Regions from separate parts of the Homo sapiens genome. Here all the other regions are linked to region 3. The links are contacts of gene promoters, found by promoter capture Hi-C in blood cells and fetal thymus (Javierre and others, 2016). All regions are on one chromosome and are shown on one strand. Each heading gives the region's core, a stretch centred on a gene start or on the middle of the fragment in contact. The rest is flanking DNA. Distances are from core to core; before and after follow the strand shown. Region 1 overlaps ICA1 (islet cell autoantigen 1). Region 2 holds the start of LOC124901585 (a long non-coding RNA gene). Region 3 holds the start of COL28A1 (collagen type XXVIII alpha 1 chain). Region 4 overlaps LOC105375138 (a long non-coding RNA gene). Region 5 overlaps ICA1-AS1 (ICA1 antisense RNA 1). Region 6 overlaps ICA1 (islet cell autoantigen 1).

Evidence for each region. Contacts are between HindIII fragments. The CHiCAGO score rates a contact against its expected background, and 5 or more counts as called.
Region 1: a fragment that was not itself captured here is called in contact with the fragment with the promoter of COL28A1 in region 3 in 2 of 17 cell types (non-activated CD4 T cells and total CD8 T cells); the score reaches 7.7 in non-activated CD4 T cells.
Region 2: a fragment that was not itself captured here is called in contact with the fragment with the promoter of COL28A1 in region 3 in 1 of 17 cell types (megakaryocytes); the score reaches 7.6 in megakaryocytes.
Region 4: a fragment that was not itself captured here is called in contact with the fragment with the promoter of COL28A1 in region 3 in 10 of 17 cell types (total CD4 T cells, M1 macrophages, total B cells and 7 more); the score reaches 10.0 in total CD4 T cells.
Region 5: a fragment that was not itself captured here is called in contact with the fragment with the promoter of COL28A1 in region 3 in 1 of 17 cell types (fetal thymus); the score reaches 5.9 in fetal thymus.
Region 6: a fragment that was not itself captured here is called in contact with the fragment with the promoter of COL28A1 in region 3 in 1 of 17 cell types (total B cells); the score reaches 5.1 in total B cells.

The regions. Positions count from the first base shown.
Region 1 is chr7:8,234,491-8,238,498 of GRCh38, reverse strand. It overlaps ICA1 (islet cell autoantigen 1), which reads left to right. Exons shown (of 14, transcript NM_001136020.3): 2 at 2,494-2,589. The coding sequence starts at 2,573. Among named protein-coding and RNA genes, the nearest start is that of ICA1, 26 kb to the left of the region's middle. The HindIII fragment of the contact is 722 bases long and covers 1,501-2,222 here.
Region 2 is chr7:7,000,187-7,003,696 of GRCh38, reverse strand. The region is part of intron 1 of LOC105375138 (a long non-coding RNA gene); the gene reads right to left. It overlaps LOC124901585 (a long non-coding RNA gene), which reads left to right and starts at 509. Exons shown (of 2, transcript XR_007060204.1): 1 at 509-586; 2 at 1,862-2,169. RefSeq lists an enhancer at 936-1,574. The HindIII fragment of the contact is 2,477 bases long and covers 972-3,448 here.
Region 3 is chr7:7,533,392-7,537,420 of GRCh38, reverse strand. It overlaps COL28A1 (collagen type XXVIII alpha 1 chain), which reads left to right and starts at 1,548. Exons shown (of 35, transcript NM_001037763.3): 1 at 1,548-1,671. The HindIII fragment of the contact is 1,663 bases long and covers 114-1,776 here.
Region 4 is chr7:7,016,038-7,019,796 of GRCh38, reverse strand. The region is part of intron 1 of LOC105375138 (a long non-coding RNA gene); the gene reads right to left. Among named protein-coding and RNA genes, the nearest start is that of MIR3683, 49 kb to the left of the region's middle. The HindIII fragment of the contact is 532 bases long and covers 1,209-1,740 here.
Region 5 is chr7:8,312,442-8,316,470 of GRCh38, reverse strand. The region is part of intron 3 of ICA1-AS1 (ICA1 antisense RNA 1); the gene reads right to left. Among named protein-coding and RNA genes, the nearest start is that of ICA1-AS1, 52 kb to the right of the region's middle. The HindIII fragment of the contact is 797 bases long and covers 1,998-2,794 here.
Region 6 is chr7:8,187,866-8,191,478 of GRCh38, reverse strand. All of the region lies in intron 6 of ICA1 (islet cell autoantigen 1), which reads left to right. Among named protein-coding and RNA genes, the nearest start is that of ICA1, 72 kb to the left of the region's middle. The HindIII fragment of the contact is 3,337 bases long and covers 408-3,613 here.

The sequences.
Region 1 (4,008 bases), core at 612-3,111, 700 kb before region 3:
GTTGGGTCAATAACAAAATGACCCAATTTAAAAATGGGCAAAAGACCTGCATAGACATTTCTCCAAAGAAAATATACAAATGGCAAAAAAATATGAAAAGATGCACAACATCACTAATCAGAGAACTGTAAACCAAAACCATGAGATATCACCTCACAATGCTTCGGATGGCTATTATTTTTAAAAATGGAAACAAACATTAACAAGGATGTGGAGAAAGTGGGACCCTTGCATACCATCAGTGGGCTTGAAATGGTGCAGCTGCTGTGGAAAACAATAGGCAGTTTCCTCAAAAAATTAAGTAGAGAACTGTATAATCCAGCAGTCCAAATTCTGTGTATTTGTGCAAAAGAATTGAATACAGGATCTCAGAGAGATACATTAAGACCTCATTTAATGTCATTGATAGTTCTTGGAAACTGCAACTTTAGGCAAAACGACATAAGCCATTTTTTTCTTATCAATATTATTATGAAACAGTGTTATTCTGGACCTGTGTATATCACTTTGCCTATAGTTGCAGCTTCCAAGAACCTGTCAATGAATTTGACACTGTATACTGTGTTTATTGCAGCATTATTCCCAATAGCCAAGATGTGAAAGCAACCTAAATATCCATTGACACATGAATGGTTAAAGAAAATGGTGTGTGTGTGTGTGTGTGTGTGTGTGTGTGTGTCTGTCTTCAACATTGCATATACAATGCAATATCATTCAGCCTTAAAAAGGAAGTCCTGTCATATACTACAACACAGATGAACCTTAAATGCATTATGCTAAGTGAAATAAGCCAATCACAAGAACACAAATACTGAGTGTTTGCATTTTTATGAGGTATCTAAAGTAGTCAAATTCATAGAATCAGAAACTAGAATAGTGGTTGCTGGGGGCTGTGGGAGGGGAAAATGGGGAGTTGTTCAATGGGTGTAGAATTTCCATCATGCAAGATGAAAAAGTTCTAGAGATCTGTTGTACAACAAAGTGTATATTGTTAGCACTACTATACTGTACACTTTTAAATTAAAAGAATAAACTTTTTTACCATAATAAAAATATTAATCAAAAAGTACCAACTATCCTAATAGTTCATGGTGACATTGAACTCAAGAGAAGAATATGATAATTCCATTTCCTTTGAACACCCTCTTTTTATGAAAAAATTTGTTGGAAATTTCAAGCTAACTAAAGTAAATGTGTACTTACAGTGAAGCTGTCTGGGTGGTGAGAGGACTGGGTGTTGGTAGCCTCTCCATGATGCACTGAGTGGAGGGCAGAGCTTACTTACTTACCCTGAATGTCATTCCCAAAAGCAGCTCGTCCAGATATTTGGATGCTCTCCACAAGGAAGAGAGATGTTCACTGCAGGATGCTGTCATATCAGAGGCATCTGACACTCTGGAAATTCTCTTCTTCCTCTCTCTTGTCTGCATACCTGAAGCGTGGGATTTGCACATCGTAATTTTGTCCCCTTGAAATGTTTTTAAATAGCCTAGGAAAGCTTTAATCACTTTAGGAGTACTGGTTGCCAGGATCCTTTCTGAGACCAAAGGAGAATGATTGGATTGATTTTGTGAAGCAGTCTGGGCATTCATATGCTGTGAGCACTCACTCTGGCAGCTAGAGGTTTTGCCTCTGGCCAGTGACCATTCCTTTGAGTAGTGAGCTTTCTGTTCTTTCCAGTAACTGCTGGCAAGTGGGCTAATGTGGCTGGGCTGGTGGGCCCTGGGGTGGGCTAGCTTCCATGAGTGGAGCAAATGGAGTAAGGGCAGAGACATTGACTCCAGTATTTACTAACGAGATAAATATACAAGGCTAGGCTGGTAGATACCTATTTTCCACCTTTGTGCCCTTCTTGCTATCTTATTCAAGCATATCAACCCTTTTTTGGTTTTTATTTGGGGTTTTAAAATTTTGTTCTATTTTTGTTTCTATTTTTGCAATGTGCTGGTTTGTTTCTTTAAAAATGTTGATTATAAAATATTTCAAATCTGTAAGGAGGCATACAGATGCAATATATTCACCACCTAGCTTCACAAAGAGAACACTATGTGTGCACTTGAAGCTGCTGTATATCTCTCTCACATCACATCCCACACCATCTCCTGCCGTGGTCTGCTGTCTGGAACTTAGTGTTCATCATTCCTAAGCAATTCTTTATACCTTCACCTTATAATATTGTATACCTCAACAACATATAGTATTGTTTTACATATTTTTAAGCTTTATATAAATGATATTATATTTTATGTAGTCTTCTGCAACCTGCTTTTTCATTCAATCTGCCTGTTCACTTTTTAAACTTTATTTGGAATATTTCTTCCAGTGTTACTTAGCTATATTGTTGTCATCACCAGTGTGCAGCATTACTGTGTAACAGTGTTAGACCCTAAAATACAGCTAGAAATGGCTTAGGTTGAAGGCTTTTATGTGTGTCACATTAATATGTAACTATAATATGGTGTGTAACTATTAAACATATTTGTTTTATTTCAGGTTATAATATAACTTATCCTCTCATGCTTTTTTCCTGCCCCTTCTCCCCAAATCATCAACAATAGAAGAAGAAGAAAACATGTCAGGACACAAATGGTAAGTAATTTGTCATCTTTTCTGAATTGGGAAAGTAGAAAGCATATAGCATATGATCAATAAACATCTATTGAATGGAAAAACAAGAGATACATTGGCAGTAAGTATCATGTTAGCCCTCACCAATGCTGAGCCAAATTCAGTATCTCTGTTAAATATGGTGTGAAAACCAAGTAACAAAAATATTGTAAATTCTTACCTAATGTGCATTCTCTAAGAAATTCATTTATGTGTAACTTTTCTCTTGGGAACCTACTGATAGTTTTTCTTACCACCATTTTGTCTAATGTAATGAGTTGATGCGTTTTTATTACTATCTTATTTATAACTTCTAACATTAGAGTTACAAGGGAATTTTATGTTAGGGTAGCTATAAAATAAAGAATGATTCTACAACCACACACGACTCGTGCTTATTAATTTAGAGTCATGACTTCAACCTTCCTGAACATTCAGGAGCCAATTATTGTCAAAAGTAAATGATGCTGAATAAAGTAGATGTGGTAACCATTTGGCAATGTTAGCGCTGACATTTATGTGCCTATAACATATCTGAGCAGCATGTTAAACCTCTTGTAAGGTCCAGAGCTCTTCAAGCAGTGTTTCCAAATTCTTTTGAACCCATGACCCACCAAGCAAGCAGATCTTTGTGAACTTTTATTTTCTTTAATTTGTATCATGAAAAACAAATGTGTTACATATTTTTCAAATGCACAATTAATTATAATAATACATTTTTTTTTTTTGAGATGGAGTCTCACTCTGTCACCCAGGCTGGAGTTCAGTGGTGCAATCTCAGCTCACTGCAACCTCCGCCTCCCTGGTTCAAGTGATTCTCCTGCCTCAGCCTCCCGAGTAGCTGGGATTACAGGCATGTGCCACCACGCCTGGCTAATTTTTGTATTTTTAGTACAGACGGGGTTTCACCATGTTGGCCAGGATGGTCTCGATCTCTTGACCTCATGATCTGCCCACCTCAGCCTCCCAAAGTGCTGGGATTACAGGCATGAGCCACCGCGCCCGGCCAAAGAAATCCATTCTATGGCCCACTCTTGAGAATGCCATTCCCCTAAAATAATCAGTCTTTGGAGTGTATCCTTCCAACCTTTTAATGTGCATATTCTATAGAGAGATTATCTTTTACATAAGTTTTATACATTATCTTATTTTCTCTGATATGAGCTCATAATACGACTTTTAAATAATGCAGAAAGATATAAAGTAGACCATGAAAGTCTCCCATAATCCTACTTCTCTCTCCAAAGATAACCATTGTTAAGGAAGTCATCAGAAATGCCTTCTGGCTTTTTAAGAATAAATGTGTAAATTGAAAATTGTAAACTTAATGAAATTGTAAATGAAGGAAAGTAGGTTTTGAGATACTGGTATTTTGATATAGTCATATAAACAAACTCACGT
Region 2 (3,510 bases), core at 961-3,460, 530 kb after region 3:
GGTTGGGGGAGTCGCTCCTACCTGGAATACTGGCAGAGGAAAAAAAGTTGGTGTTGAGCTACATCGTGGTTCTTAAAATTTCTGCTCACAAGTAACACCTGTCACTTCTACTCACATTTCACTGGCAATAGCAAGTCACCTGGCTACACTGATATCAATGGGCTAGATATAGCATAATCCTCCCCCAGGGAGGGGCACTGCATATTTTTCAGCAATAATAGAACATACCAAAAGAGCATCCCTGTGGAGGCACACTCACTGTACCTGTCCTCCCGAGCCCTCTTATCCTTCTTCCACACACACTGTGCCAAACACAGAACCTGGATCCATTTCCCCCACGTCTTGACTCTGGCTCTCAGACTGCCCCATGTTATTGGAGGCTCTGCCCTCTCTGATGGTGCCAGTCCACATTCATGCTTGGGTTTTCCTCCTTTGCTGGACCACCATGATGCCCACTCATCTTTTCTTTTTCCCCTCATTAACTCTGATATTTGTCTGTTATTTTCAAGTTCACCCTCACAACATCCCAAGCCCTTCAGTACCTGCAGAAGATGAGCCTCCTGTTTTTTATGGAAAACAGGGGCCTGTAAGTATGAATTCTTCTAAAACTTGTAAACCCTTCTCTGCATTCCTTTTCTCCTCTCTGCTCTGCTTTTCTCCACAACACTTATTTATCATCATTGACATACTTAGCTTATAAATCTTGTATGTTGGTTAAAATTAGGTGTCAACTTGATTGGATTGACAGCTGCCTAGAGTATTGTTCCTGAGTGTGTTTGTGAGGGTGTTGCCAGAGGAGACTGACATTTGAGTTGGTGGACTGGGAAGGAAGACCCACCCTCAAGGTGGGTGGGCACCAGTCAATCAGCTGCCAGAGCAGCTAGAACAAAGCAGGCGGAGGAAGGTGGGATAGGCTTGCTAGTGGAGGCTTCTGCCAGAAGCCTTTTTTTCTTCTTCCCATGCAGGAAGCTTGCTTCCATTCCTCCTGACCTTGGATGTGGGAAAAAGAAAGAGAGATCAGATTGTTAATGTGTCTGTATACAAAGTAGACATAAGAGACTCCATTTTAATCTGTAACCCTACCCCCAAACCTGTGTTCCCTGAGACATGTGCTGTGTCAACAACTCAGGGTTAAATGGATTTAGGGTTATGCAGGATGTTCTTTGTTAAACAAATGCTTGAAGGCAGCATGCCTGTTAAGAGTCATCACCACTCCCTAATCTCAAGTACCCAGGGACACAAAACACTGCGGAAGGCCACAGGGACCTCTGCCTAGGAAAGCCAGGTATTGTCCAAGGTTTCTCCCCATGTGATAGTCTGAAATATGGCCTCGTGGGAAGAGAAAGACCTGACTGTCCCCCAGCCCGACACCCGTAAAGGGTCTGTGCTGAGGAGGATTAGTAAGAGGAAGGAACGCCTCTTTGCAGTTGAGACAAGAGGAAGGCATCTGTCTCCTTCCCGTCCCTGGGCAATGGAATGTCTCGGTGTAAAACCCGATTGTATATTCCATCTACTGAGATAGGTGAAAACCACCTTAGGGCTGGAGATGGGACCTGTGGACAGCAATACTGCTCTTTAAGGCATTGAGATGTTTATGTGTATGTATCTCTGAAGCACAGCACTTAATTCTTTACCTTGTTTATGATGCTGAGACCTTTGTTCACGTGTTTACCTGCTGTCCTTCTCTCCACTATTATCCTATGACCCTGCCACATCCCCCTCTCTGAGAAACACCCAATAATGATCAATAAATACTAAGGGAACTCAGAGGCCAGTGGGATCCTCCGTGTGCTGAACGCCGGTCCCCTGGGCTCCCTTTTTCTTTCTCTATACTTTGTCTCTGTGTCTCTTTCTTTTCCAGGTCTCTCGTTTCACCTAATTAAAACACCCACAGGTGTGGAGGGGCAACCCACCCCTTCACTTGGACATCAGACTCCAGGTTCTTCTGCCTTTGGACTCTGGGACTTGCACCAGCAGCTTCCCCGAGGCTCTCAGGCCCTGAGCCTGAGACTGAAGTTTGCACTGTGGGCTTCCCTGGTTTTGAGGCTTTTGGACTTGGACTGAGCCACCACCAGCTTCTCTCTTTCCCCAGCTTGCAGACAGCCTATTGTGGGACTTTGCCTTGTAATCCTGTGAACCGATTCTCTCTAATAAACTCCCTTTTTCATATACATGTATCCAATTGATTCTGTCCCTCTGGAGAACCCTAGTACAACTAATTTTTTCTCTGCTGCCCTTTACTCTTCTAGGCTTACCTAGACTACCACCATTCCTTCCCCCTTTCCTATTCTAAAGTAAAAGTTGTTTTTTCTCGCTTAATGCATGGTATTTTGCCCATTTCCCATGGCTTCCCTCAGTCCTGCTCTTGTTTATTCTTCTTGCTATCTTAAGAGGAAATTCCTGCCTCTTCCTTGGCTTTTCCCACTTGGTCTACGTACTGGTTTCTGTTGTTCTTAGAGACACACTGAGACGTTTCACATCTCACTGCCACTTCTTGGAAGGGCTCTCTCTACCTGGTCTGCCTGCTAAGCAACCTCTTGGGGAGACACGGGCACTCCTGAGTTATCGAACTTGAGCTGTTTGGTGTTGGCATGTTAATTTATCTTCTTACACCACTTACCACTTCCTTAACGTCAAAAGATAAGAATAATTATTATTTTCCATGGTTGATGTGAAGAGTACAAATAACTTATACAAAATGCATTGCAGTTAGGAGATAATAAATGGCAGTGAATGCCCTTATTAATGTTATTCTATCAGTCTCAGCTGAGGTACCATCTGCTCTGTGAGCTCGACTCTGAATCATATCTATTTCTTCCCGGGGTTCATTGTGCTCTATTCTTAAATGCTTTAAAACAGTAATTATTCTGATTCTAATTAGTGGTCCTTCCCAGTAAAATTTGAATTTTTTAGATCTCTTTCCCCCACCCCTGCCCCAGCCTTAGCAGTATTTTCTTATGTCTTTTTTGTGTGTACAGGCTAAATCACTGGTCTTCTTTTATTTGTGGCTAAAAAAATGTTTTGCTGGAAGAGTAAAGAGTTCCCATTTCCATGAGATCTATAGTTTTACAAAATGAATATATACATAATCCATGTAACTATTTCAATTTTAAAACAATTTTTAAATTTTTAGATAAAATTTAATTTGTGCCCATGTGTATGTGTGTGAGACCAGAGATGGGAGTGGGGGGAGAATCTCACTATGTTGAGCAGGCTGGTCTTGAACTCCTGGCCTCAAGCCACCCTCTTGCCTTGGCCTCCCAAAGTGCTGGAATTACAGGCGTGAACCATGCACCCAGACTCACTTTTTGTTTTAACAGATCCTAGAGTGAGAAAGCAAGTAGCATTGTGATAGAGTAGCTGGATAGGGAGCAGTTCCTGGAATCTGAAGAAAAGGAGGTGTGGAAAGGGTCAGTTGACAGAAGCTGTGGCCTTCAGGAGACAAGCTTTGAGGTAAGAGAGCTGGGGGGCTAAATGTCCTGTGGTCTCGCCCTGTCTCCACTTGCCTTG
Region 3 (4,029 bases), core at 299-2,798:
GAGAAAAAAAATTCAATTCCTGGGCCAGGCTCACTGTGTGGAGTTGACATGTTTTCCCCATGTCTGTGTGGGTTTTCTCCAGGTCCTGGAGTTTCCTCCCACATCCCAAAGCTTTGCCCATTAGATGCATTGGTGTGTCTACATGGTGCCTGTCTGAGAGAGTGGGTGGGTGTATGAGTGCCCTTTGACAGTACTGCATCCTGTCCAGGGCTGGTTCCTGCCTTGTATCCTCAGCTGCTGGGACAGGATCTGGTCAACCGTGACCCTGAACTGGAATATGCAGGTAAGCAGTTATCTTGTTTTTATCAATCTTTCATAAATGTATATATAGCTTAGATTTATTTCAATGTTTATTATTAGAGGTGTTTTGAGTATTTAGAGGTTTAGTGATGTTTTTGTGACTAGGAATATGCCATAAGAGCTTAACTCTTATTTATATCAATTAGCTCTTGGGAAAATTGTCTTCATTATCAATTGTTTCACTTTATGTCACAGTTTCCAGAACCTACAGAGGACATTAAGTGAGGACTTACTGTATATAGGTGGTTGTGCTTGTGAAGGATTAAATGAGGTAATGTGTGTGAAGCACTCAGGACAGTGCCTAGCACCTGGTAAGTGTCCATGAATTGGAGGCTATTATTGCTGTAATAAGGAAATTCATACACATTAAAATGGCTAAGAAAGTTCATTTTAAATAACCGTAACATGCACATTTGTATTGCTTTCTCGGATGATCTTGCTATTCTCTATTTCAGAGGAAGTCCGTGGAGAAGCCTGCCTGTTAGCTGTCTAGGGGTCAGGTGGCTTCTTGGCAGTATATATTACATGATAAACATTGACTTAATATGGACCATAACCACAAGGTAGAAAATAGGGAAACAGGGAGTGGAAAAACCACAGTGATCCTTTCCTAGAGAGAGACCAAAATATTAACCGCTGTAAACCTCTCATGTTACAGTTCGAACACATCTTAATAAATGATTAAATCTACTCTCTCATTTCATAAGTGGGGAACTGAAGCCCCCATAAAAGTTAGGGGCAGAACTATGACTATACTCAGACCACTCTTTCCCTGTATATTATATATACCTTTTATTATAAAAAATTTCAAAAATCACAGAAATACAAAGACTAGAACAATGCACACCTATGTACTCATCATCCAGCTTTAATAACAATCAAACTGTTACCTCTCTTAAAAAAACAGCTTTGATTCTGAGTCTGGTGTCATTTATACTCCTTCACAGAGATGTTCAGAACCAGTATCTTAGAGCACATCCCCCAGGCAAAGAAATGTAGCAATAAAAAGAGAAGGACATAGCATGAGAAAAAAAGGCAGGCTGTCAACCAATGCCTAAAATGTAGAAAGTTCTCTCAAGTTGTTTTTACAATAGTCTGGAAAACACAGTCTCATTCTGAAAGGACACTGTTCCTTTAAATTGCTTACTGATCCCACCCAGATCTTGCACCCTGGCCAAATGCCTGACCACTCTTGCTTTGACTTAGTCGAATAAACATGAACAAAAGACTGCAAAAGATCCTAAAGCAAAGACACTTTTATTTCCCACAGAACAGAACAATATCAAATAGCTAACTTCACCCCCAACCACAGTCCTTGCTGTTGGCATTTACTCAACTAGTCTTTAATTCCTGTTTGACAAACTTTATAAGGTAAGACATAACAGATTTATTTTAGTCACTTGAAATCAGATAGGACCATCAAGGAACTGTGGAAGACTAAATGACTTACTTACATAATTATTAGGTGAGAAAGCTTGTCAATAGTTTGTATTCTCTGCAATTACTTCAAATCAATTATTAGAAAAATATTAACATTGTTAAAATGTAGAAATTTAAAACTTAAAATTATTTTGAAATGGATTTTTAATTTACAGTCTTCTAAATTGTTTTACAACGATGTTAATATATTTTAGGACATCTTTTTCTTAATTTGGAACAGGGTTTACAATTCAGAATTAGTTATAGAATACTTTACAACTTGGCTAATTTGTCAATTTGAATAAAGTCTTTATTCAATCATTTTCTATTTGTGTAGAAACTGAGATGCAAACATTGTAACTAAAGTTGGTGAACTCTGATATAAGATCATTTTATTTTTGAAAAATTATAAAAAATAAAGTATCTTGGATTTATTTACTGATCCTGATATTTACCCCAAATAAATTTTAGGCCAAAAGTAAAACTACGGTATTTGATTAATAATTATGATTGTTTCTGCATTTATAAAATGTAACCTATAGTAAACACAGAGGTTCACATTTCTTTCACTTAACTAATGGCACTGTTTCCTCTGAAACCTATTTTGCTTGTACGTGACATCAGAAAGAGAGAAAGGTGAGAATTATTAAAAACAGAGGCAAAATAAAACATGGTAAAAAGTGATTAGAAATGAGTGGGCTCTCAAGATGCCAAATTAATAAACGAGAAAGATATTTCAGGGAAGCAGTAGAACTAACAAGCTAGAGAAACAAATCTAGAGAGGTATGAAAATGTCCTCTGGCTACAATAGGGAAACAGAAAGAAATAACAAGACTTTGGTTTGGGAGAGCTAGATTAACAATGTCAGAGCAAATAAGAACAAAATATGAGATACTGGGATTATTGTCAATGGAAAAGTTATGTTTGTGAATATCATATATACAGGGATCAGGTACAAATTCATGATTATATGCCAAGAAAACAGTAAGAGCAGGTGCTTAGTTTTGGGAAAAGATAAATCTTTATTTAAAGCCAGTATTTCTAAAACCTTACATGAAGGGTTTTGAAGAGTTGCTTGATTATGTTGCTTATAAAATCTTGCTCAGTTCTCAATGGAATTCAGTTCTCAGCCTCTTATTTCCAGAACTTCTGAGATGTTCCTTATGGTATGAACTCAACCAAAGAGAAAAGTCATATGTAATACCATGGCCATGGTGTTATTCCCTTTCCCCTTTGAAAATGCAATAACAACTGTGTTTTTCACATAGCCTTATCTTTACACTAACCTTCAGACTTAAAGTTGTACATCATTTATTTTTTTCCTTGGTTAGCAAAGGGACAACTTGAGGAGAGATGGCCTTTGTGTGTTCTGTTTCCTTAGCACATTTCTTGGTTTTGTTTTGTTTTTAATACCCAGCTGTCTTTACATTTTAGTATACCTTGTCTGAGGATCAGTTGGCATTTGGCCAATTGCTACACAAGATGTTTGGTCATACCTATCCAAAGTTCTTTTAATACACTTCCAGCTGGATGATGCTATGTGAGGAGCAGACTGTGGCATGAAGCCATCCATTGGTCCTCTCCTAACCCAACAGTTTTGTTTCCCTTTGGGGTTTATCCATCTGGCATGTATGAAAAAAGTCAGTCTCCATCTCACTCCTCACTGCCTTTGCATATATTTCCACTCTCTACTCAGAGTCTGGAAAAATCGTGCTCATGATTTCCCAGATTCTTATCCCCTAAAGGCAAGGTGCCAAAGAAGGAAAATGTGATTCCTTTTCCAGAACTCCTGAAGTCAATAAAGTTTCAGCAGGCAAGCATTTTTAAGCCATACTAAGTATTGATTCGAAATAAGCTTTCTCGTTCCCATTCTCTTGGGTATACTGAGGCAGCAACACATGAGTCTTCTCCTCCCAGGGAAATCTGTCAGTTTAAGAGTCAGTTGGTGTGTAGCTAGGCATATTGACTGATGAAGATTGAGGATTTTAATACAGAATTAGATTTTTCGTTGTTAATCCACCCAGAAAAATAGTTTCACGGGGCTATTCAGAGGGGGTGCTTCTTGGCTTTAAGTCCCGTTTCTGTCCATTAGTTCTTTTAGCCATCACTGGAAGAAGAGTGTTGCTTTTAAGCAAATCTATTATTTTTGCTCTCATACTCTTTTGATTCATTGCATATGCAGCTTTGAACCCCTGGTGGAGACAAAGTTTCCAAAGCTAGGGTAGAAAAGAGAGATGGGGTTCTATGGAAACAGAAGGGTCGTTTAATTTTTACCTTGACCTCTGAACTCACTGAAGTTATGTGTGTAGT
Region 4 (3,759 bases), core at 225-2,724, 520 kb after region 3:
AAATCAATGTCATCATTCCACTCCACCTAAAAATCTCCAATGGGCCTTGTCACCTCCAGAGTCATTTGTGTTCTTAGAGGATTTCTTGTGTTCTTAGAGGATTTATAGAGACATAAATGGCCGTGCCTTCCTTGCCTGTCAGACACATCATGAACATATGTGAATAATTACATTTTAAGATATATGTAGATACTTCTTATGCTGAAGAAAACAAGTTTCAAAATCTTTACTAAATTTTAAATAAATTCATTAAATTAAAAATGAGTTATTCACCTGGTTTGGTGGCTCACATCTGGAATCCCAGCACTTTGAAAGACTGAGGCAGGAAGATTGCTTGAGCCCAGGAGTTCAAGACCAGCCTGGGCAATATGACAAAACCCTGTCTCTACAAAAAATACAAAAAATTAGCTGGGCGTGGTGGCACAGGCCTGTAGTCCCAGCTACTGGGGAAGCTGAGGTGGGAGGATCGCCTGAGCCTGGGATGTCAAGGCTGCAGTGAGCTGAGATCATGCCACCGCACTCCACCCTGGGTGACAGAGCAAGACCCTGTCTCAAAAAAAAGGAAAAAAGTAATCAATTATTTTTTCTCAATGGGTAACTTAATGCACAACGATTGTCTTATGAGTCTGCTCAATTTTTTGACATTAAAAAAGATACTCATTCATAACTACATACCGATTTGATTATTGTTATGTAAAAGCTCTCATTTTAACTAATACTCTTCGACATGTCTGTTTTCTGGCTGTGGACCTTGCAGCTAGGTCATGTTAATTCTGCATAATAAACTTTGGTAATGTATCAGTTACAGAGTGGAAATAGGTAATTGGTGTGGGGGAAGATTGGGATACTGACACTAGAGTCTTTTTGAAACTGGAATGGAATAAATTCCACATTCTAAAAAGCTCAATTAAAGTAATTAAAAATTCCCTGTGGTCTCTTATTAACTTCCAAAAGAGGCATTCAGGTGAAGCCTTAATATACAGTATAGTAATATACTACTATATGCATCTGGGACTAGACCTCAATATTCTAGTCTCCTAACCTGGCATTGTTAACATGGCTTGAAGGGGCCAGTAGGACCTCACGGCCTAGTTGGAGACTCATATCTCAACTCAGTTTCCAATCTTATAAGCTGGGACATCAGCTGTGAGAGAGGTGGAAGCTTCAAAAAAAAAGAATGTATTTTCCTAGGAACCACAAGAAAAGCTTCATCAAATCTTTTATAGTAAAAGCAGAACACTCTACGATTCTTACATTTTCCACTTCAACTAATCACTTAGTAATTCAACAGGTATTTATGTGGTAACAACTCAGCCAGGGAGTGTTTGAGTTGATCTGAAAAGTCAGAGTTTACAATCAAAAGGAGGAGGGAGAAATGAAATGTAGAGGAGGATAATAACAAGTAGTGATTACATCCCTAAAAGAAATACAAAAAAATCCAAAAGCATCTTCTCTTGGATAATAGCAAACTGGGAAAACTCCAAATAGTCAGAGATGAGGTTCTTTCTCCTACCCTGTGAAATGAAGAACCTAGTAAGAACATTTTTTTTTTTATTAAAATTCAGTCTTTTTTTTTCTCTCTGGCTCATAGATGTAGGTTTAATACTTCCCTTTATTTCTGCCACCTGATTCCCTTTCTCCCCGCATGTTTTCTTTTGACTGGTATGAGATGATATCTCATTGTGGTTTTGATTTTCGTATCTCTAATGGTTAGTAATGTTGAACATTTTTTTACAAGCTTGTTGGCTGCACCAATGTCTGTTTTTGAAGTGACTGTTCATGTTCTTTGCCCAATTTTTAATGGGGTTGTTTGCTCTTTGCTTGCAAATCTAGTAAGATTTTGCCTTAGGTGAAATCTTCCTGGAAGCAGCAAGCCCTTTCAGAAATGAGGTACTGCCCAGTCTACATTCATATGCCAGTTACAAGTGGACTTGGAGGTGGCGGGGAAGATGGGTTGTGGGGGAGGTGGGGTGGGTGGCAGGAGGTGTGAGGGGAGGAGGTCAGAGGGAAAGCTGAAGACAACCGAGCATTGGAGTGTTGTCTGCTGCACCCTGGCTGTTCCTATATAGCCTCTCTCCTCCAGATCTCATAGCACCCTGCTTCACTGAAGAGCCTCAGTCACCCCGGAAAGTTCATATCCCCACTGCCCACCTCCCATCAGGAAACAAAGGGATGCTGAGCTGTGCTTGGGGACCCTTTTTTTCTTTTAAAGAGTTTCACAACTACTTTATTTTATTTTCTAAACTTTTATTTTAGGTTCAGGGGCACATGTGCAGGTTTGTTAAATAGGTAAATTGCATGTTGCAATGGAGGGGTGGTTGGTGTACAAATTATTTCATCACCCGGGTAATGAGCATAGTACCTGATAGGTAGTTTTTCAATTCTCAACTTCCTCTCACCCTCCATCCTCAAGTAGGCCCCGATGTCTATAGTTCCCCTCTTTGTATCTATATGTACTCAACATTTAACTTCCACTTATAAATGAGAACGTGGGGTATTTGGTTTTCTGTTCCTGTCTGTTAGTTTGCTTAGGATAATGGCCTCCAGCTGCATCCATGTTGATCCATGTTGCTACAAAGGACATAGCTCATTATTTTTGTGGCTGCATAGTATTCCACTGTAAACATGTACCACATTATCTTTATACAGTCTATCACTGATGGACATTTAGGTGGATTCCATGTCTTTGCTATTGCAAATAGTGCTGCAATGAACATAGGTGTGCATATGTCTTTATGGTGGAATGATTTATATTCCTTTGGTTATATACCCAATAATGAGATTGCTGGGTCAGGTGGCAATTCTGATATAAGTTCTTTGAGAAATCACCAAACTGCTTTCCACAGTGGCTGAACTAATTTACCTTCCCACCAACAATGTATAAGCGTTCCGTTTTCTGTGTAGCCGCATCAGCATCTGTTGTTTTTTGGCTTTTTACTAATAGCCATTGTGGCTGGGCATCAGGGCACAAGTCTGTTATCCCAGCACCTTGGGAGGCTGAGGTAGGCAGGTCACTTGAGGTCAGTAGTTGGAGACCAGCCTGGCCAACATGGCAAAACCCCGTCTCTACTAAAAATACAAAAATTAGCCAGGTGTGGTGGCGCACACCTGTAGTCCCAGCTATTTAGGAGGCTAAGGGATGAGAACTACTTGAACCCGGGAGGTGGAGGTTGCAGTGAGCCAAGATAGCACCACTGCACTCCATCCTGGGTGACAGAGTGAGACTTTGTCTAAATAATAATAATAATAATACTAACAGTAATAGCCATTGTGACTGGTGTGAGATGGTATCTCATTGTAGTTTTGATTTGCATTTCCCTAATGATTAGTGATGTTGAGCATTTGTTCATATGCTTATTGGCCACATGAAGGTCTTCTTTTGAAAAGTTATCTGTTCATGTTATTTGCCTATTTCTTAATGGGGCTGTTTTTTGCTCATTGATTTGTTTGAGCTCATTATACATTCTGGATATTAGACCTTTGTGGGATGCCTAGTTTGCCAATATTTTCTCCCATTCTGTAGATTGTCTGTTTACTCTGTTGATAGTTTCTTTTGCTGTGCAGAGCTCTTTAATTAGGTCCCATGTATCAAATCTTGCTTTTATTGAAATTGCTTTTGGTGTTGGGACCCTTTCGAATGGAAGAGGTTCAATGTAGAGATGAGGTCTTGCTATGCTACCCTAGCTCCTCTCATCCTCTCCTGGATAAGGAGAATCCAGAGGGTGCTATAGGGACCATGTTTTGTTTTCCCCCCTCATA
Region 5 (4,029 bases), core at 1,147-3,646, 780 kb before region 3:
ACCCAGCCAAGGGTGAAGGCCTTGACCCTGCCCAGCGCTGGAGCTGATTTAGTGAGTGATGGGGAATATATGAGAAGGAGCAGTATCAGGACATGCTTAGCATGCAGTCCCAGACTGCAGTGGGGATGATGGGAAGCCACTCTTGATCCTAACCTCACAAGGGACCTCACAGAAGCCTACCAGCTAACTCAGACAGTGGTCACAGTTGGGAGACGCTTTCAACTGAGATTTGCAATAGAATCTTGAGTAGGCACAAATCCCATTGGCCAGACTGAGGGGTGAGTGGGAAGAGTACTATAGTCACAGATGCAGGAGCTGGATACCTCTTCTTCACAGGTGGACCAGGAGAGGTGTGGCCTGAAAGCCACACAGTATCTGTCTCTGTCAGGAAGGCTTGTGGCCTGGGGAAGTTTTGAGTTCTGAGTGCAGGCTGCCTAAAACCCAGCTAGCTGCTCCTAAAAGAACACTGTGGGTGCGAGACCTGCCTTGCCAACGGTGTGGGAGTGGAGTGAAGCTTACTGCCACCTGCTACCTGCCCATTCCCCATGCAGATTTTTTTGTGCAGCAGAGGCAGCTGCACTCCTCCCTGGAACATTACCCCAATGGCCAGGGAACTGCTCTTCAATCTCCACATAGGGACCCAGAGCACAAACTTACCTGACCCAGCCCACACCCAGATTTGTCCTTCCACCTGCCCTGGTAGCCTAACACAACAGAATAAGACATTTGGGAGCTCCATGGCACCACCCATTACCTGAGACATCAGAATACCTCTCCTGGATAACATAAACCAAGCACAAATTCTACTGCTACCATCAAGCTGGTGCTCTTTTGCAAGCACCGCCTTCTGGCTGGTGGTCAACCAGCACAGCCCATGACAGCAGCTACAGGCACAATAACACAGCAATCAGAAAGGAGAAAACTTTTGCATGGCCTCATCTATCCTCACTGCCTGCATCACTCTCGCTAACCAGGAAGGCTTGAGTTTGTCCGTGTGCCTAGTAAGTTAGGACTACAGCTGGCATTTGAAAAACTCAACACACTAAAGCCATTTATAACCAAGGAAATCTCACAGTTTACATCACTCCCCTCCCACCACTACCAGAGCTGGTGCTGGTATTTGCTGCTTAGAGACTAGAGGATAAGTCACATCACTGGAGCCTAGAGTGTGGCAGCCCCACTGGGCAGCTAGACCCAGAGGAGCAAAAGGATTCACAGTACTCTGGTCCTCAGGGACTGCTACACTTAGGGGAAGAGGGAGTGTATCACATTAAGGGAGCATGGGACAAAAGATACTGGACTGCAAGCCTTCAGTCCCTGAACTTTCCACCTGTGGGATGTTTTCTTCAGCAGAGGCACAGGTGCAATGCTGGGCTCAGTGGGGAAACTCTGCAGCTCTACTCCAGTAGTCAGGTAGCCCTGGTGCTTGTGAAGGGTCTTGGAGAGGGGACTCCTCCCTTTTACTCACCACTGTAGACACAACTAGGGCTTCTCCCATGGAATCCCAGCATGAGTGCATCTGTAGGCAGCCTTTCTGGAACTTCAGGGTGACTGTATCCCCAGAGAAGGAATGCCCTCCAGGTTCAGGCTTGCATGAGAGGTAGAGTCACAATCTCTCTCTAAATGAAGCATCAGCATTCTTGCAGATAAAAAGAGATGCCTGTCTGATCTGTATAGCCAGAACACCAGGTCAGGAGTATGACTGGAAGGCAGATTGCTTTCCTGCTGGTCTGGAAGGAAAGCTGTGGTGGCTCCCTCCCCTCCCTCTGAAAAGACTTCAGTGCATTTTTACTGAGAGTTCACCCAACCACCTCTGTCAAAGCTGGGACGTCTGCCCAATATTAGGGTATTGCATTTACCCACCTGCTTTAGCCAAAGCCAGTTTTTCCCCATGAGCATCTCCTACTGGCCCGAAGCCTGAACCATTTAACCCAGTGAATAAAATCCTGGGAGGAAAGCTTTTTTAAAGTGCACGCCACTGGAAAATGAGATAAGCTTCATGAGACCTCTGCATTCCAGCCCCACAGAAAACAGAAAACCTGCTCCCATACCCAGCACATCATTACTAATCTAGTGAACTTGTTTTCTTCATTGTGCTCTCGCTTTATAGGCTGTGTGATTTTTATGCTTTGAGGAGTGTCTATTCTGATGCATACTGACCTTTGTCTCAAGATTTAGAACTCCTTTTAACATCTCTTATAGGGCTGGTAAGACCATCAGCATCTGAGAAAGCCATCGCACAAAGATTCCCTATAATAAAATAATTCATACAGAGGCTTTAACACTCAAAGCACCCACAGCCAAAGCTAGGTAACAATAAACTATAAACATTAAAGTCACATCTTCAAGAAGAAATAAATGAAATTTTAAAAAACCATTGAATCAAAAATAAATTCAAAAATAATTAGAAGAAATAGTCTACCTAAATGAGAAGGAACCAGAAAAGCAATTCTAGCAATATGAAAAAACAGGGTTCTTTAACAGCCCCAAAATATCACACCAACTTTCCAGCATTGGATCCAAACCAAGATAAAATCTTTGAAATACCAGATAAGGAATTCAAAAGGTTGATTACTAAGTTACTCAAGGAGATACAAGAGAAAGGTGAAACCCAACGTACAGAAATGTAATAAACAATTCAGGATATGAATAAAAAATTTTCTAAAGAGATAGATATTTTAAAGAAAAGCCAATCAGAACTTCCAGAAATGAAAGACACATTTAAGGAACTACAAAATACTGTCGAAAGTTTTAACAATAGAGTCAACCAATTAGGAGAAAGAATTTCAAAGCTTAAACACAAGGTATTTGAAGTAATCCAACAAGACAAAAATAGCAAAAAAAGAATGCAACAAAATAAAAGAAGTCTCCAAGAAATATGGGATTATGTAAAACTGCCAAACATAAGAATTCTGTGTTCCTGATGGAGAAGAAAAAGCAAAAAGTTTGGAAAACCTATTTGAGGGAATAACTAAGGAAAACTTCCCTGGTCTTGCTAGAGACTTAGACATCCAAATTCAAGAAGCTCAAATAATTCCTGGGAGACTGATTGCAAAAAGTACATCAAGAAGGTATCTGGTCATCAGGGTATCTAAAGTCAACGTAAAGGAAAGAATTCCAGGAGCAGTGAAACAAATGCATCAGGTAACCTGTAAAGGAAAACCTATCAGACTAACAGCAGACTTTGCAGCAGAAACTTTACAAGCCAGAAGGGATTGGGGTCTTATCTTTAGTCCCTTTAAACAGAATAACTCTCAGCCAAAAATTTTGTATCTAGCAAAACTAAGTTTCATAAATGAAAGAGAAATAAAATCTTTCTCAGACAAGCAAATGCTAAGGGAGTTTGTCAATACTAAACCAGCCCTACAAGAAATGCTAAAAGGAGTTCTAAATCTTGAGACAAAAGGTCAATACACATCAGAATAGAAACTCTTCAAAGCATAAAATTCACAGGGCTTATAAAACAAGAACACAATGAAGAAAACAACTTCACTAAGTAACAATCAACACGATGATTGGAACAGTACTTCACATCTCAATATTAATGTTGAATGTAAATGTTCTAAATTCTCCACTTAAAAGATACAGATCGTGGAAGACAGTGTGGCGATTCCTCAAAGACCTGAAGACAGAAATACCATTTAACCCAGCAATCTCATTACTGGACATATACCCACAGGAATATAAATTGTTCTATTGTAAAGACATATGCAAGCATATGTTTATTCCAGCACTATTCACAATGGCAAACACATGGAATCAACGTAAATGCCCATCAGTGATAGACTGGATAAACAAAATGTGGTACATATACACCATGGAATACAATGCAGTCATAAAAAAGAACAAGATGATGTCCTTTGCAGGGACATGGAGGGAGCTGGAGGCCAATATCCTTAGCAAACTAACACAGGAACAGAAAACTAAATAGAGCATGTTCTCACTTATAAGTGAGATCTAAATGATGAGAACACATGGACACATAGAGGGGAACAACACACACAGGGATCTATAGGAGGTTGGAAGGTG
Region 6 (3,613 bases), core at 827-3,326, 650 kb before region 3:
CTACAGTGCTTAATATTTCACAGTAATTTATTGAACACTGTACTGACAATGAAAAACAGAGTGGTTGTTTGCGTACTTGAAGTACAGTTTCTGCTGAATACATGTTGCTTTTGCATCTTGGCAAAGTCAAAAACTCTAAGTCAAACAATCATAAATCAAACCATGGCAAATCCAGGACTGTCTGTACAATATTACAATACTGTATTTATGTTGTAGCTATTGTGATATAATTAGAATTATGTGCCAGCATGATTCTTTGCAAATTCAGTGAGACCTGGTCAATGTCTTTCAGATAAATTACCTAAGACTAGATGATAGCAGGGACATTATACATCAAAATAGTGATTTCAGTTACTCTCGTATAAAGTGGAGGGCAGGAACGATGGACAGCTATCATCTTAAAAGCTTATTGGAGTCAGACGATGGTTCCTCACATCTGCTGACCTGTAACTATGGAATAAACAACTCTGATGACCATTTGTTCATTATCATACTGGAGTCATGTTCCTGAGGAATTCCAGGGCAGTAAAAATTTAGAAGCTAAATGTTTAACTTTCCAGAATGTTTAATTTTTCTGCACTAAGTCAAAGCAAGGCTCATGGAAGCAAACTTCCTTGTTCCCTAAACACTCAGCCCAGAAAAATTGAGAGATCACACATGTAACCGTGAACTTTGCACTGTTAGATTTATAAACTTCACAAACCAAAAATAGTTTCTGTTGTTGATCCAAAAACCTCCATTCTAATGACAAACTTATGGTGGCTAAAAACCTTTTAAATGTTAGATTGAGTTCCTGCTTTGTCCCTCTGCATGTGATTGAGCCAGGTTAAGTTGATTTGAACCTGAGAAAAGAAACACATTGCCTCTGTAGGGTTTTCTAAGCCATCTGAATTGGTACTAAACCATTTCTGTGAGGTGTTAGAATCCTGCAGGGGGCACCAGAACATTCCAATGCAGTTGAACACATTTCATTAAGTCCAGAAGAGCTAACTGTATTACCTTATTATAATTGATTTCTCTACTGTAACGTTTTCAGTTCCATTAATATTATTTTTTTGTACATTTACTTTTACAACATTTGTGAGTTTATGGAATGTTTCTGCCTCTCTGAGGAGGCAGAGGAAGGAAAGAGATCATCTCTTGGATGAGTCCTTAGAAACTACAGCCATGTCTCCTCTGGGTAAATATGAAAGGTTTCAGCCCACTCGGAGAGTAAGGACTTTCCAAATGTTCCTAATCTGACTGCGGAAAAAAAAAAAACTGGAAGAAACTGAGAATTCAATTTACTTTCTTAGCCTTAAGGCTGTGTATAAGCTACCCTGTTATTATCATTATTAATAATAAACACAGTGAATGTCAGACAGGCACTTCATGGTAGATTTTTATATGAATTTTGTGCAAAAGTAAAGGGTTGCCAGGCTACTGCATAATATTACTCAGTTCTGGTCCAGGAGTACAAAATTCCACCAGGCCTCCTGAGCCCGTCCCTCCAATTAGTGGCTTACTTCATTACGAATAAAGAACCCTCATTACTGTGGGCCTTCAAGTGAAATAGGATCCCCTACCTCTTGAAATCCGCCTTTCTAAGTACAGACAGTTCCCAACTTACAAACAATCCACTTAAGAACCACCAAGGCATTCAGAGGCTGCTGTAGGCTCCTGCAGCTGCTGCCTGGGCCCCCTGCCCAGCCCCCCTGCCCAGCCCCCTCCCCACACTCCTGGTCTGCTCAAGGGAGCGCTGCCTACCCCCCTTGCAGAGCCAGCTGCCCACCTGCCCCTCGGACTGCAGGCTCGGAGCTGGGGGTTCAGTGAGGCCTCAGAGCTACCGCTGGTTTTATAGTTGAGCTCAGCTATGGGGTAAATAGGCTTTTGTGGCCTGGCCTGGGAACCGAACCACCATTTAAAAAAAAGAAGAAGAAAAAACCTGCCTCCATGGGAAAATGTATTCTGCATTCCCAATAGCCAGCCAACAAATGTTAGAATGACTGTGGGGGCTGTCTTCTGTCTTCATGCCCCTAGCAGAGCGAGGAGGCGAAAGAATCCGCCTGTGTGTTCTGGGTTCTGGGTCCAGCTCTAGCACTAAACCCAACATAGGACCTTAGTAAGCCCTTTAACCTCTGTGTATCACATCATCTGTAAGACAATAGGATTGTACTAAATGAGTTATAAGCCTCCTTCTAGTATAATGACCCCAATTGATCAAAGCTCTACCCTCATTTTATTCATTCAGAGGCATTTTACTCAGGGCACATGCTTTGTGCAGGCTCTGGGCTTGGTGGGAATACAGTCAAATAATACAGATCCCAGCACTCACAGGGTGCAGTGTTTACTTGGGGAGACAGATCTTTAAGTGAATGTTCATAAGTGCTATGATTGCAATGGGCACTGGGTTCTGTAAAAGCTCAGGAGGGTCTGAATCAGATGAAGTCTTTGCAGAGGGGTTGGCTCGCGGGCTCACTCCCCTGATTTCTATTTTAATTGACTCCTCTCCCAGGGTATCAAATCTGGTTCACTGGGAAGCATAGCTTCTGCATCTACCATCCTAACAGTTTGGCATGGTCCCCTGGCCTCATCAAGGAAAGTCTTGCCCTCCTCTTTGCGTCACTGAAAGATAGAATACAGGGATGCTCCCACCAAACCATAGTCTTGATTCCTGTAAGTACTGCCCTGAATGCTTGCTTCTTCTCTGCCCTAGGGAGCCATGGCCAAAAAAGGTTCTCTCTTGCTCTCCTTGGGGCCTTCCCTGCCCTGAAGAGAGGCAGGATTGGCAGCAACTCTGGTACTCCCAAGTTTAAAATATTCCTTACCTCCCAAAATATTTCTGAAGTCCCAGCTACCTCTTGCTGTCCTATATTTATAATGCCCTAATTATAATTCTACCAAAAATCCCTTCTAGGCTTCCACCCTTACTCCACACTCACTTTTAAAATAGTAACAATCGAAGTGATTCAAAGAAGTCACCTGTCATTTGGAAGGTGGCATAACAGAGTGGTTCAGGTTGGAATCTTGACTCTGTGCCTTGATATCGGACATTATGAAATTATGTCGGTATGAAGGTTCCTGGGCAAGGAAGCGACCATGGAAGAGCAGTTTTGAGGAGAGTTAATTTTGGTAGCTCTGTGTAGGATGCTACAAGAATGGAGAGGAGGGAAAAGATGAGAGATTTTCAGCGTAGAAATGATGAAACTTAGAAACCAAATAAGTGTGTCATTATGCAATGTGAACTTATATAACTTTCCTGTACTCTCAAAGTATCTTATTTATTTTGGTTCTATGAAAGCAGTTTGATAATTATAACTGGAAAATCTTTTCTTTTCATATAAATAACAAAACACCCCAAGAAAACATTATCTAAGAGTTTTTCCAATCCCCATTCCATTATGTTCCCTTAGGATGCCTTTAGCGTAAGAAACAGCCTGGTGCCTTGGTGAGGAACTCAGTCTCTGCAGTGAGCATCTCCTGGGTTCAAACTGTGGCTTCCCCACTTCGTAGCAGTATAATCTCAGGCAGGTTTCTTAACTTCTGAATATTTCAGTGTCTTCATCTGAAAAATGGAGACACAGTCAAGTACCATATAATGACATTTTATGATGGTGGTCCCATAAGATAACAA